Regions from separate parts of the Homo sapiens genome. Here region 1 is linked to region 2. The links are contacts of gene promoters, found by promoter capture Hi-C in blood cells and fetal thymus (Javierre and others, 2016). All regions are on one chromosome and are shown on one strand. Each heading gives the region's core, a stretch centred on a gene start or on the middle of the fragment in contact. The rest is flanking DNA. Distances are from core to core; before and after follow the strand shown.

What was found. Contacts are between HindIII fragments. The CHiCAGO score rates a contact against its expected background, and 5 or more counts as called.
Region 1: a fragment that was not itself captured here is called in contact with the fragment with the promoter of CRTC3-AS1 in region 2 in 3 of 17 cell types (activated CD4 T cells, total B cells and fetal thymus); the score reaches 6.5 in activated CD4 T cells.

What each region holds. Positions count from the first base shown.
Region 1 is chr15:90,379,572-90,385,627 of GRCh38, reverse strand. No RefSeq gene overlaps it. Among named protein-coding and RNA genes, the nearest start is that of IQGAP1, 5.6 kb to the left of the region's middle. The HindIII fragment of the contact is 1,603 bases long and covers 1,371-2,973 here.
Region 2 is chr15:90,714,872-90,720,717 of GRCh38, reverse strand. CRTC3-AS1 (CRTC3 antisense RNA 1) reads left to right here and starts at 3,578. Exons shown (of 4, transcript NR_120372.1): 1 at 3,578-3,737. BLM (BLM RecQ like helicase) reads right to left here and starts at 3,372. Exons shown (of 22, transcript NM_000057.4): 1 at 3,278-3,372. The HindIII fragment of the contact is 2,609 bases long and covers 3,378-5,846 here.

The sequences.
Region 1 (6,056 bases), core at 923-3,422, 330 kb after region 2:
CCAACATGGTGAAACCCCCGTCTCTACTAAAATACAAAAAAATTAGCTTAGTATGGTGACACACGCCTGTAGTCCCAGCTACTCGGGAGGCTAAGGCAGGAGAATCACTTGAACCCAGGAGGCAGAGGTTGCAGTGAGCCGAGATTGTGCTCCTGCAATCCAGCCTGGTTGACGGAGCGAGACTGTCTTTTAAAAAATAATAATAATTGCCGGGCACGGTGGCTCACGCCTGTAATCCTAGCACTTTCGGAGGCCGAGGTGGGCGAATCACGAGGTCAGGATATTGAGACCATCCAGGCTAACACGGTGAAACCCCAGCTCTATTAAAAACACAAAAAAAAAAAAAATTAGCCGGGCATGGTGGCGGGCACCTGTATTCCAGCTACTCGGGAGGCTGAGGCAGGAGAATGGCGTGAACCCTGGAGGCGGAGCTTGCAGTGAGCCAAGATCATGCCTCTGCACTCTAGCCTAGGCAATAGAGCGAGACTCCATCTCAAAAAAATAAATAAATAAAAATAAAAAATAATAATAAAGAATAAATTGTGCCTATTATATTGTCTATATTAGATTTCCTATTACATTTTCTTTTTTTTTTTCTTTTGAGATGGAGTTTCACTCTTGTCACCCAGGCTGGAGTGCAATGGTGCAATCTCAGCTCACTGCAACCTCCGCCTCCCGGGTTCAAGGGATTCTTCTGCCTCAGCCTCCCAAGTGGCTGGAATTACAGGCACCCGCCACCACACCTGGCTAATTTTATATATATATATATTTTTTTATTAGAGATGGGGTTTCACTATATTGGCCAGGCTGGTCTCAAACTCCTGACCTTGTGATCCACTGGCCTCGGCCTCCCAAAGTGCTAAGATTACAGGCATGAGCCACCGCACCTGGCCTAGATTTTCTTTTTAGTTCATTCAATCGTATAAAACTTTTTCAAAACTTTTTTTTTTTTTTGAGACGGAGTCTCACTCTGTCGCACAGGCTGGAGTGTAATGGCACAATCTTGGCTCATTGCAACCTCTGCCTCCTGGGCTCAAGCGATTCTCCTGCCTCAGCCTCCTGAGTAGCTGGGATTACAGGCACGCACCACCGCGCCCAGCTAATTTTTGTATTTTTAGTAGAGACGGGATTTCACCATGTTGCCCAGGCTGGTCTTGAACTCCTGACCTCAGGTGATCCACCCACCTCTGCCTCCCAAACTGCTTGGATTACAGGCGTGAACCACTGTGCCCGGCCTAGATTTTCTTTTTAATTCATTCAATTGTTTAAAACTTTTTCAAAACTTAGTAATTCCTATAAATAAACATACAAGCATAACAAAGCTAACATTCTCTTAGATGGCCTGATTCCATGTGTAAACTTAGTAAGCTTTCAACTCAAAAACCTAAGTCTAAAACTAACTCAATTACACATTTAAAATGATTTACAAAAAAGCTGTCATTCAAGTCGGCCAAATTTTCTTAAACATTGCGAATACATAAAATGTGAAATATTTCTTCTTCTTCTTCTTTTTTTTTTTTTTTTTTTGAGACAGAGTTTCACTCTGTCACCCAGGCTGGAGTGCAGTGGCGTGATTTCGGCTCACTGCAACCTCAGCCTCCCAAGTTCAAGTGATTATCCTGCCTCAGCCTCCTGAGTAGCTGGGCTTACAGGCGCACACGACCACACCCGGCTAATTTTTGTATTTTTACTGGAGGTGAGGTTTTGCCATGTTGGCCAGGCTGGTCTCGAACTCTTGACCTCAAGTGATCTGCCCACCTTGGCCTCCCAATGTGCTGGGGTTATAGGCATGAGCCACCATGCCCAGCCGAAATATTTCTTCTTAACTCCAACATATTAATCCAATTGTTCATTCCATAAAGGCTTTCTTTACTTAATTACAAAGTTTGTCTGAGGTGAAAGCCACAGAGATGTTAAGTTACCAACTGCACTGGTACCTTACTATACTAAGTGTTGCACATTTATTTTCTCAGCTGATCCTTGTAATAATCCCATTATGTCCATTTTACACTTGGGAAAATGGAGAACTGGGTTACTTACCTGAAGCCACACAGCAAGAGGCAGAGCTGGAACTCAAACCCAGGCCTGTCTAATGACAAAGCCCAATTCCTAGTCAATAAACTCAAGATTCAGAGAAATAGACATTAAGATAATAACATGCTGGCCAGGCACAACGGCTCACACCTATACCCCCCAGCACTTTGGGAAGCAGAGGAGAGAGGATTGCTTGAGGCCAGGAGTTCAAGACCAGCCTGGGCAAAATGAAAAACCCCGTCTCTACAGAAAATACAAAAAATTAGCCCAGCGTGGTGGCATGCTACCCAAAAGGCTGAGGTGGGAGGATCGCTTGAGCCTGGGAGTTGAGGCTGCAGTGAGCTGTGATCCCGCCACTGTGCTCCTGCCCAGGTAGACAGAGTGAGACCCATCACCAAAAAAAAAAAAAATAGAAAAGATAACATGCCACATATCACTTCTTGCCTATCATATGTAGCAACATTTTGGTTTGTCTTTTTAATTGATATTATTGGCAAGGGGGTGAAAAAGCAACCACTCTTATGCAATGTTAGTAGGCAATAAATTAATATAGTCTTTCTAAAGACCAGCTTATCATTATGCATCTATTCTTCAACCAAAAAACTTCACTTCTTGGAATGTATCATAAGGATATCGTGCTTTTATTAAATGTGCAAAAGTTATCCATGAAGATGCTCCTTGGAAATTACTCAAATGTCCATCAGTAGGTGTTTAAATCAGTGATGGCAGCTATACACAATAGAATGCCATATAGCCATGAACAGTGATGATCTGTGGTCTGGTCAGGCTTGACTGGCTACAGGAAACAGACATGCACAGTTTTACTTCTAGAGGAAAAAAGGCTGGAAGGGAGGCCTTTCTTATACAGACCTATATGGACTGGAACTGCACCAAAAACAAAACTACACTAAACAAAAAAAAACAGGACTAATGAAAGCTTGAAGTCATGGTTTCATTCTCTGGGCATCTCTGCTTTTCCACAGGCTGGCTCTACTCTCCACTCTTTGCTAACCAGCTTACTCCATTTAATTTTTTCTGTTCCCTCACAACTCTTGTTTCTGCTTGCCTTGCCATGGCTTTGACTGAAGGTCATGGTATCCTTACATCATCAGCTCCATTGAGGATCATCTCAATTGCCTAACTCCATAACCCATAGAGTGGCATATGATTGACCCAGCTCAGCTTTCCACCCTGTGGGTAAATCTCTGACCACCCACAGGCAGGCTGCCCTTAGATTGGATGCTGATCCTTTACTTCAATCAACTATGATCAGGAGATACAGATAATTAAGCATAGAGAACTATGAGCTGGGCATAATTTCCTTCAGTGGGAGGCTGGGCAGGCAAAAAATGTACAGGCTGGCAGTACAATATTTTAATATTGTGGTTAAGTTAATATATCAAATTATGACTAATAAATATGATACCATTTTGTTTTAAATGTAGCTAGATAGATAGATACATTGATGGATATGTGCATATGAATAGATAAAGCCTTGAAGTATATACACCAATATATTAACAGTGGCTTCTCCAGGCAGTGCTATTACACTGGATTTGTGTGGGGTTTGCTTGCTTGCTTGTCTGTATTTAAAATGAGCTGCTGGAAATACTATTTTGTCAGCAAATATAAATATGAATAAAATTAGTAAATATGAAATGAATAAACGGCAAAATAATGAGGTAAATGGTCATTTTGGGAGTCAAAATTGGTTAATGACCACAAAGAATTTACAAGCCAGGAGGAGTCAAGCAATATTAACAGGATATCTTGAGATAAGCACCATAATAGAAGTTTCCCTTGCTTGGAATACCTTTTAGCCTATTATCTGCCTGGGAAACTCCTACTGAACCTCCCAGACCCAATTCAAATGTCACCTACTCCCCAGGCAAAATTAATCACTTCCTCATTTATTATATTTCCCAGTAGTACTTTTAGAAACCAGGTATCTTCAGAAATAAGTCTTACTGTCTAGTAAGTACAACATTTTCAAGAAATAAGTCCCAATTTTTTTTATATTTAAATGCCTCTGAAATCAGGATAGGTCTTACAATCAGTGTTAAGAGAAACTAGCCAGCTACCAGGAGAAAAGTAGATGGAGAAGTAACACAATTGTTGACATAGTTTGGATATTGGTCCCCATCCAAATCTCATGTTGAACTATAATCCCCAGTGTTGGAGATGGGGCCTGGTGGGAGGTGATTGGATCATGGGGGCGGTTTTCTCTTGAATGGTTTAGCACCATTCCCTTGCTGCTGTTCTTGTGATAGGGAGTGAGTTTTCATGAGATCTGGTCATTTAAGAGTGTGTGGCACTCTGTCTCTCACTCTTGATTTCACCATGTGATGCGCCTCCTCCCCATTCACCTTCCACCATGATTGGAAGCTTCCTGAGGCCTCCCCAGAAGCAGATGCCACTATGCTTCCTGTACAGTCTTCAGAACCGTGAGCCAATTAAATTTCTTTTCTTATAAATTACCCAGTCTCAGCCAGGCACAGTGGCTCACACCTATAATCCCAGCACTTTGGGAGGCAGAGGTGGGTGGATCACTTGAGGTCAGGAGTTCAAGACCAGCCTGATCAACACAATGAAACCCCATCTCTACTAAAAAAAGAAAAAAAAATAGCAAGGTGTGATGGTGTGTGCCTATAATCCCAGCTACTCCGGAGGCTGAGGCAGGAGGATCACTTGAACCCAGGAAGTGGAAGTTGCAGTGAGCCAAGATTGCACCACTGCACTCCAGCCTGGGTAACAGAGCAAGACTCTGTCTCAGAAAAAGGAAAAGGAATTACCCAGTCTCAGGTATTTCTTTCTAGCAATGCAAAAATGGACCAACACAGAAAATTGGTACCAAGGAGTAGGGCACTGCCATAAAGATACCTGAAAATGTGGAACCGACTTTGCAACTGGGTAACAAGTATAGGTTGGAAGAGTTTGGAGGGCTCAGAAGAAGATAGGAAGGTGAGGGAAAGTTTGGAACTTCTTAGAGACTGGTTAAATAGTTTCAACCAAAATGCTGATAGTGATATGGACAATGAAGGCCAGGCTGACAAGGTCTCAGATGGAAGTGAGAAACTTCTTGAGAACTAAAACAAAGGTCACATTTGTTGTGTCTTAGCAAAGAGCTTGGCTGTGTTCTGTCCACGCCCTAGGGATCTGTGGAACTTTTAACTAAAGGGTGATGATCTAAGTGTCTGACAGAAGAATTTTTTTTTTTTTTTTTTGAGACTGAGTCTCGCTCTGTCACCCAGGCTGGAGTGCAGTGGTGCATCTTGGCTCACTGCAACCTCTGCCTCCCGGGTTCAAGCAATTCTCATGCCTCAGCCTCCTGAGTAGCAGGGATTACAGGCACCCACCACCATGCCCAGCTAATTTTTGTATTTTTAATAGAGATGAGATTTCACCATGTTGACCAGGCTGGTCTCGAACTCCTGACCTCAGGTGATCCGCCCACCTCAGCCTCCCAAAGTGCTGGGATTACAGGCATAAGCCACCACACCTGGCCAGCAGAAGAAATTTCTCAGCAGCAAAGCATTGAAGTTGTGGCATGGCTGCTTCTGACAGCCTAACTTAAATGTGGGAGCAAAGAAATGACTTAAAGTTGGAATTTATATTTAAACAGGAAGCACAGCATAAAAGTTTGAAAAATTTGCAGCCTGGCTATGTGGCAAAGAAAGAAAAAGCTTTTTCAGGAGAGGAATTCAAGCAGGCTGTGGAGAGCCACCATTTGCTAGACAAATTTGCTTGACTAAAAAGGACCCAAGAACTAATTCCAAAGACAATGGGAAAAAGACCTCAAAGGCATTTTAGAGACCTTCATGGCAGCCTCTCCCATTATATGCCCAGTGGCCTAGGAGGGAAGAATGGTTTCCTGGACCAAGCCCAGGGCCCTGCTGCCCTGCACAGCCTTGGGACACTGCTTCCCACATCCAGGCTGCTCCACCTCTACCCACAGCTCAAAGGGGCCCAAGTACAGCTTGGGCTGCAGTTCCAGATGGTGGAAGCCAAAAGCCTTGGTGGCT
Region 2 (5,846 bases), core at 2,329-4,828:
CACCCCTGTACTCCCAGCTGAGGTGGGAGGATCACTTGAGCCCGGGAGGCTGGAGCTGCAGTGAGCCCTATCTCAAAAAAAAAGAAAAGAAAAAAAAAATTCCTCAAGTGTCAGGTTTAAAAAGAAAGAAAAAAGAAAAACACTAAGTTATGAATACATTAAGGCTACAGCTACCTAAGAAATCTGTATAGCTAAATCTGTATAACTAATTTTATAGCTGAAATTTGGAAAGGACTCATGGAAAATAAAAATAGTTCAAGTGTTTGAAAGATAGGATTATGACTGGAATATTTTTCTTGACATTGAGAATATGTTTCAATAAAATACGGGAATTTTTAAAGAAAGTAAACTCAATAGTTCCCTGTCATTCCAGAGAACAAAGTCCATATGTCATAACTCCAAGAACTTTCACTCTCTGTCTTCAACTTGTATTTTTCATTCAGCTAATATCTACAGTGACTACTCTGTGCCAGGCATCATGGTAGGCACTGAAGTACAGAGATGGGAAAGACATTATTACTGCCTTCAAGGAGCTTATAGACTAGCAGAAAATAGACATGTCAACAAATAATTACAATGCAACGAGATAAGTCTGACAATCAAGTCTTTTCTTAAAAGACTATGGCTTCCCAGATTAAGGAAAAACAGGCAAATGATAGAGAAGCTTTTCAAAGAACACTGAATTGGATATTGAAGGACAAGTGGAACTTTACAGACAGGACTGAGGTTGTGAAGAAGAGTAGTCTATGAACTAGTGGTACAAAGGCTGAGGTAGAATAGTATGTGTTAGCGATACAGAATGCTCAAAAGCCTCTGGTATCATGCCAAGGAGTTTAGATTTTATCCTACAGGTAGTGGAGACCCTTAGGGGCTTTCAGCACTGAAGTCCTAGGATTATTCTACGATTATCTTGGACCTCTTTATTCTATCCATTTTTCTCTTAGAAAAAAACACATATATATGTAAATTAAAATATATATGTATATCTTTTAATTTTTAATATTTCTTACATAAAGATACAGAAAATAGAATTACACCCATGTACCCACCAACCAAATTTAAAAAGTTAAACTCGGCCCTATTCTCTCTCTTTTAAAGGCATAAAACATTTCAGGTAGATTGACTGACGGACTCTCACTCTGTCACCCAGGCTGGAGTGCAGTGGTGCAATCTTGACTAACTGCAGCCTCCTGGGTTCAAGCGATTCTCGTGCCTCAGCCTCCCCAGTAGCTAGAACCACAGGCGCACACCACCACGCCCAGATAATTTTGTATTTACTATAGAGAGGGAGTTTCGCCATGTTGGTGAGGCAAGTCTCGAACTCCTGGCCTCAGGTGATTCGCCCGCCTCATCCTCCCAAAGTGCTGGGATTATGGGTGTGAGCCACTGTGCCTGGCCTCATTTCAGATATATTTAAAATCTCACTCATGGCCGGGCGCGGTGGCTCGCCTGTAATCCCAGCACCTTGGGAGGCGGAGGCAGGCGGATCACGAGGTCAGGAGATCGAGACCATCCTGGCTAACACAGTGAAACCCCGTCTCTACTAAAAATACAAAAAATTAGCTGGGCGTGGTGGTGGGTGCCTGTAGTCCCAGCTATTTGGGAGGCTGAGGCAGGAGAATGGCATGAACCCGGGAGGCGGAGCTTGCAGTGAGCCAAGATCGCGCCACTGCACTCCAGCCTGGGCGACAGAGCGAGACTCCATCCCCCAAAAACAAAAACAAAAACAAACTCACTCATTCCAGGAATGACTATGAAAAAGGAAAAAACAGATAAAAATTTAAAAATCAAAACAATAAACTATCACTCATTCCCCTTACCTTTTTCCCTTCCCTTCCTGCTCATAGGTAATACCACCTGTCCTGAAGCGGATGTGTAGAACTTCCCAGCATGATGATGTTCTACTGCACATCTAACACTTTTCCTGATTTTTTAACTCTTGGTTTCCTCAGTAAAACGAAGGAAATAACTACTTCTCCAGGTTACTGATAGGACTGTAAACTATACTTATAAGGTACCTGTCATGGTGAGTGGCATTGAAAGTGACACAGGACCCAGAAATTTCATTTCTTCCCAGTAGATTATAAGCTACTGTCTGACAGTATAAGCAGCCCAGCTAACAAAATGTTGATTTAATTAATTCTATTTACTATTCCCCAAACAGAATACTTTTGCCTACCCGCTTCTTCATCTTCTGATCTCTCATGCAGTCTCTCGAATTCCTGTCCCTTAATCTTGACAGTGACACACCAGTGTTATTTATCTGCATGGGTGGCACAAGGAGCTGTCAGTCACCTGCTCCATCTCACGCCATGAGGTACCTAAAGTTCTGTGTGACCTAAGGACAGGTGAGGGCTATAGGAGAAAGCCTAATGTTGTGGGACATACTTTAAAATCAGGCGCTTAGTTCAAATCCTGTATCTCTAGCACTTAATCACCAAATGCTCTTTCTGTACGGAGACAACCTCTTTGTACTTCAGATTCTCCATGTCTAAAATGGGGACAATTTCATCCGCTTCTCTGGGTAATGATAACAGAACCCTTACTGTGTACTATGTAACAGGTAGCCTTCGAAGCATTTATTATTGCATATATTAAGTCGTTTAATCCTAACAAAAACGCCAGGAAGTAGAAGAGACCATTTCCCCCATATGACAGACGAAAACCAAGACACTTAGTGTTTCAGTAACGTGCAGTAGACACAGAGCTAAATGTGAAGGAGCCAGAATTCGAACCCAAGCAATCTGATGCAGTATTCTTAAGCACTTCGCTTTGCTGGGATATCGTAAAGCTACAGTTGTAAGATCAAGGGTGCCAGGAACATGGCACACAGTAGACACTCAAAAACAAGAGTAGCCCAGCTCGTGATTATGGAAGGCCACAGAAAAAGTACAAAGTGTTTTCGTTGTTCCTCAGGAGGGACACGGAGGTAGTAGTGCCAGAGGTCTGGGCTGGGATTACTCTGTGCAGGGCATCATGTTACGCACTGGAGTATATGGGCAACAACATGCCAGGTCCTAGCCCATGCTCGGCCTCCGACGCCCCGGGAGACCTTGGCAGAGTTCGCCCCCGCCCCGGGCCTCTGTTTCCCCATTTGGGAACGTATTTATGTATCTGCTGTCCTCCCAGGATGTTGGCCAGACTAGAGGACTCAGCGGGCCGAGGCGAACCAGTGCAGGAAACGGAAGAACCCGAGCGGCCTCCAGCTCCGGGCCGGGCCGCCAGAGCAGGGCTAGATCAATGCGGACCGACCCGTAGTTACGCGCGCGGTACTCACCTCGCACGCAGACTCCTAGCGGACGGAACCAGGATCCAAACTTCCCGCGCCGCAACCACGGCCGCCGCGCCAAGCCCTGGCTCACTTCCCGCCGGAAGCTTGCCTATTCCGATTGGCTGCTTCCTGGGGAAGCCGACCAATACTGTCGCACTCGGACATCTGTTCCCGCCCCCTCAGGCTGCTGGGGCGGGGTCGCCGTACAGCGCCGGGAGGGACGCGTATCTCCAAAGCCCAATCAGAGTCCGGACGGGAGGGTCAGATGACTACGGTTACATCTCGGGCTTCCGGAGCTAGTTGGGTCTTTGTTTTTGGTGTTTTAGAGTCGGTGAAGGCTTTAAAGGAAGTAGGCAGCTGGAACCCGGCTGTGGCGGGTTGAAAAGCCCGGGCGTTTGAGAGCTGAGACTTGCCAGTTCCCACAGGCCAAGCCAGGCGTCTGCACCCCATTCTCTTGGTTCCGACGGTGTGTCTCTGCGATGTTTTGGCGGTCTCTCCTCTCCATCCCCTTAATAATACTGGTCTCTGTTTCACCCGTACCCCTCTACACGAGCAGGTGCAAATTGTCATTGAACCGGGAAAGTGGGCACACACTCAGATGCCTCCATGGACACGTGAGAAACCATGCTTCTGTTTCAGCCTATTGCTGACACGCGGGAATGTGGGCCCTGTGATGCCAGATCTTACTTTCTTTCCTTTCTTCCTCTCTTCTCCCCTCTCTACTTCCTTCCCTCTCTCCTTCCCTCCCGCCCTCCCTCCTCTTTGTGTGTGTGATAAAATCTATCTAACATAAAATTCACCATTTTTAAGTGTACAGTTCACTGGCATTAAGTACATTCACATTGTTGTGAAACCATCACCACTATCCATCTCCAGAACTTTTTCATTATCCCAAATAGAAAATCTGCCTGTTACACAGTAACTCCCCGTTACCCGTTTCTCACAACCCCTTATAGCCGATATTGCACTTTCTGTCTGTAAGTGCGAGGTACCGCATATAAATTGAATCATACAATAATTGCTCTTTTCTGATTGGCTTATTTCACTTAGCATAATGTCTTCAAGGAGCATCTATGTTGTAGCATGTATCAGAATTTCTTCCTTCTTGAGGCTAAATAATATTCCATTATACATGTATACTACATTTTGTTTATCCATTCATCCATATAAATGGATGCTTGGTTATTCCCACCTTTTGGCTATTGTGAATAATGCTGCTATGAACTTTGGTATACAAATAATCATTCTCCACATAATACGCAGAAAGAGTTTTCTAAAATGTAAAAATCTGTTCAAGTTACCTCCCTCCTGAAAATCTTCTATGGTAAATTGAAACCAAAATATGATACTATTAAACACTCCATAGAATAGCTGAAATGAAAAGACTGACAATTCCCTTAGTTGCAAAGATGCAGAAATGGGACTCTCATACAGTGTTGATGGGAGTGTAAAATGGTACAACCACTTTGGAAACATCAGTCTCTACTGAAATCAAATTTACCCCTACCCTATACCCCAGAAATCCCATTTCTAGATATTTACCCCAAAAAATGAATGCCTTTATTCACCAAAAGACTCATAGCAGCTTTATTCATAATAGCCAAAGGGAAAAAACCCAGATGTCCACCAATAGATGAATAGATAAATTGCAGCTTATTCATATAACTGTATACTACTGTTGAAGAATAATTTTAATATCAAATATAATACAGATATAAAATAAATGTTAGAGATTTTATTTAACTCATTAATGAATGAGATATCCAGAAAGATTACAACTGCTTCAATGGAAAATTCAAAGTACCACACACATAGTCAAATGAGGAATAATGAAATAACTACAAATATATACAAAAACTGGCAGAACTGATGAAATCCACAGCTTAGTAATCAATTGCATTCTACTGAAAACAATTTGCATTTCTTTTTTTTTTTTTTTTTTTGAGACGGAGTCTCACTCAGCCGCCCAGGCTGGAGTGCAGTGGCGCAAGCTCGGCTCACCGCAACCACCATCTCCCAGGTTCAATAGAGTCTCCCGTCTCAGCCTCCCGAGTAGCTGGGATTACAGGCACCCGCCATCATGCCCAGCTAGCTTTTTGTATTTTAGTAGAGACAGGGTTTCACCGTGTTGGCCAGGCTGGTCTCGAACTCCTGACCTCAGGTGATCCGCCTGTCTTGGCCTCCCAAAGTGTTAGGATTACAGGCATGAGCCACCGTGCCCGGCCACAATTTGCATTTCTATAGACAAGAAGTGTCTATAGTTTGTATAGTTGTTCTGTAGCTCAAAGACAGTGAAAGGTTTAGAGTCTTCATAGAATCAGACATCCTAGAAAAGTAAGCTGGACAGCTGGGCACCTTGTTTTTCAATGACACCCAGTAATCATTTTTTTGTTGTTTGTCTTAGATGGAGTCTTGCTCTGTCACCCAGACTGGAGTACAGTGGTGTGATCTCAGCTCACTGCAACCTCCACTTCCCAGGTTCAAGCGATTTTCCTGCCCCAGCTTCCCGAGCAGCTGGGACTACAGGTACGTGCCACCACGCCTGGCTAATTTATTGTATTTTTAGTAGAGATGG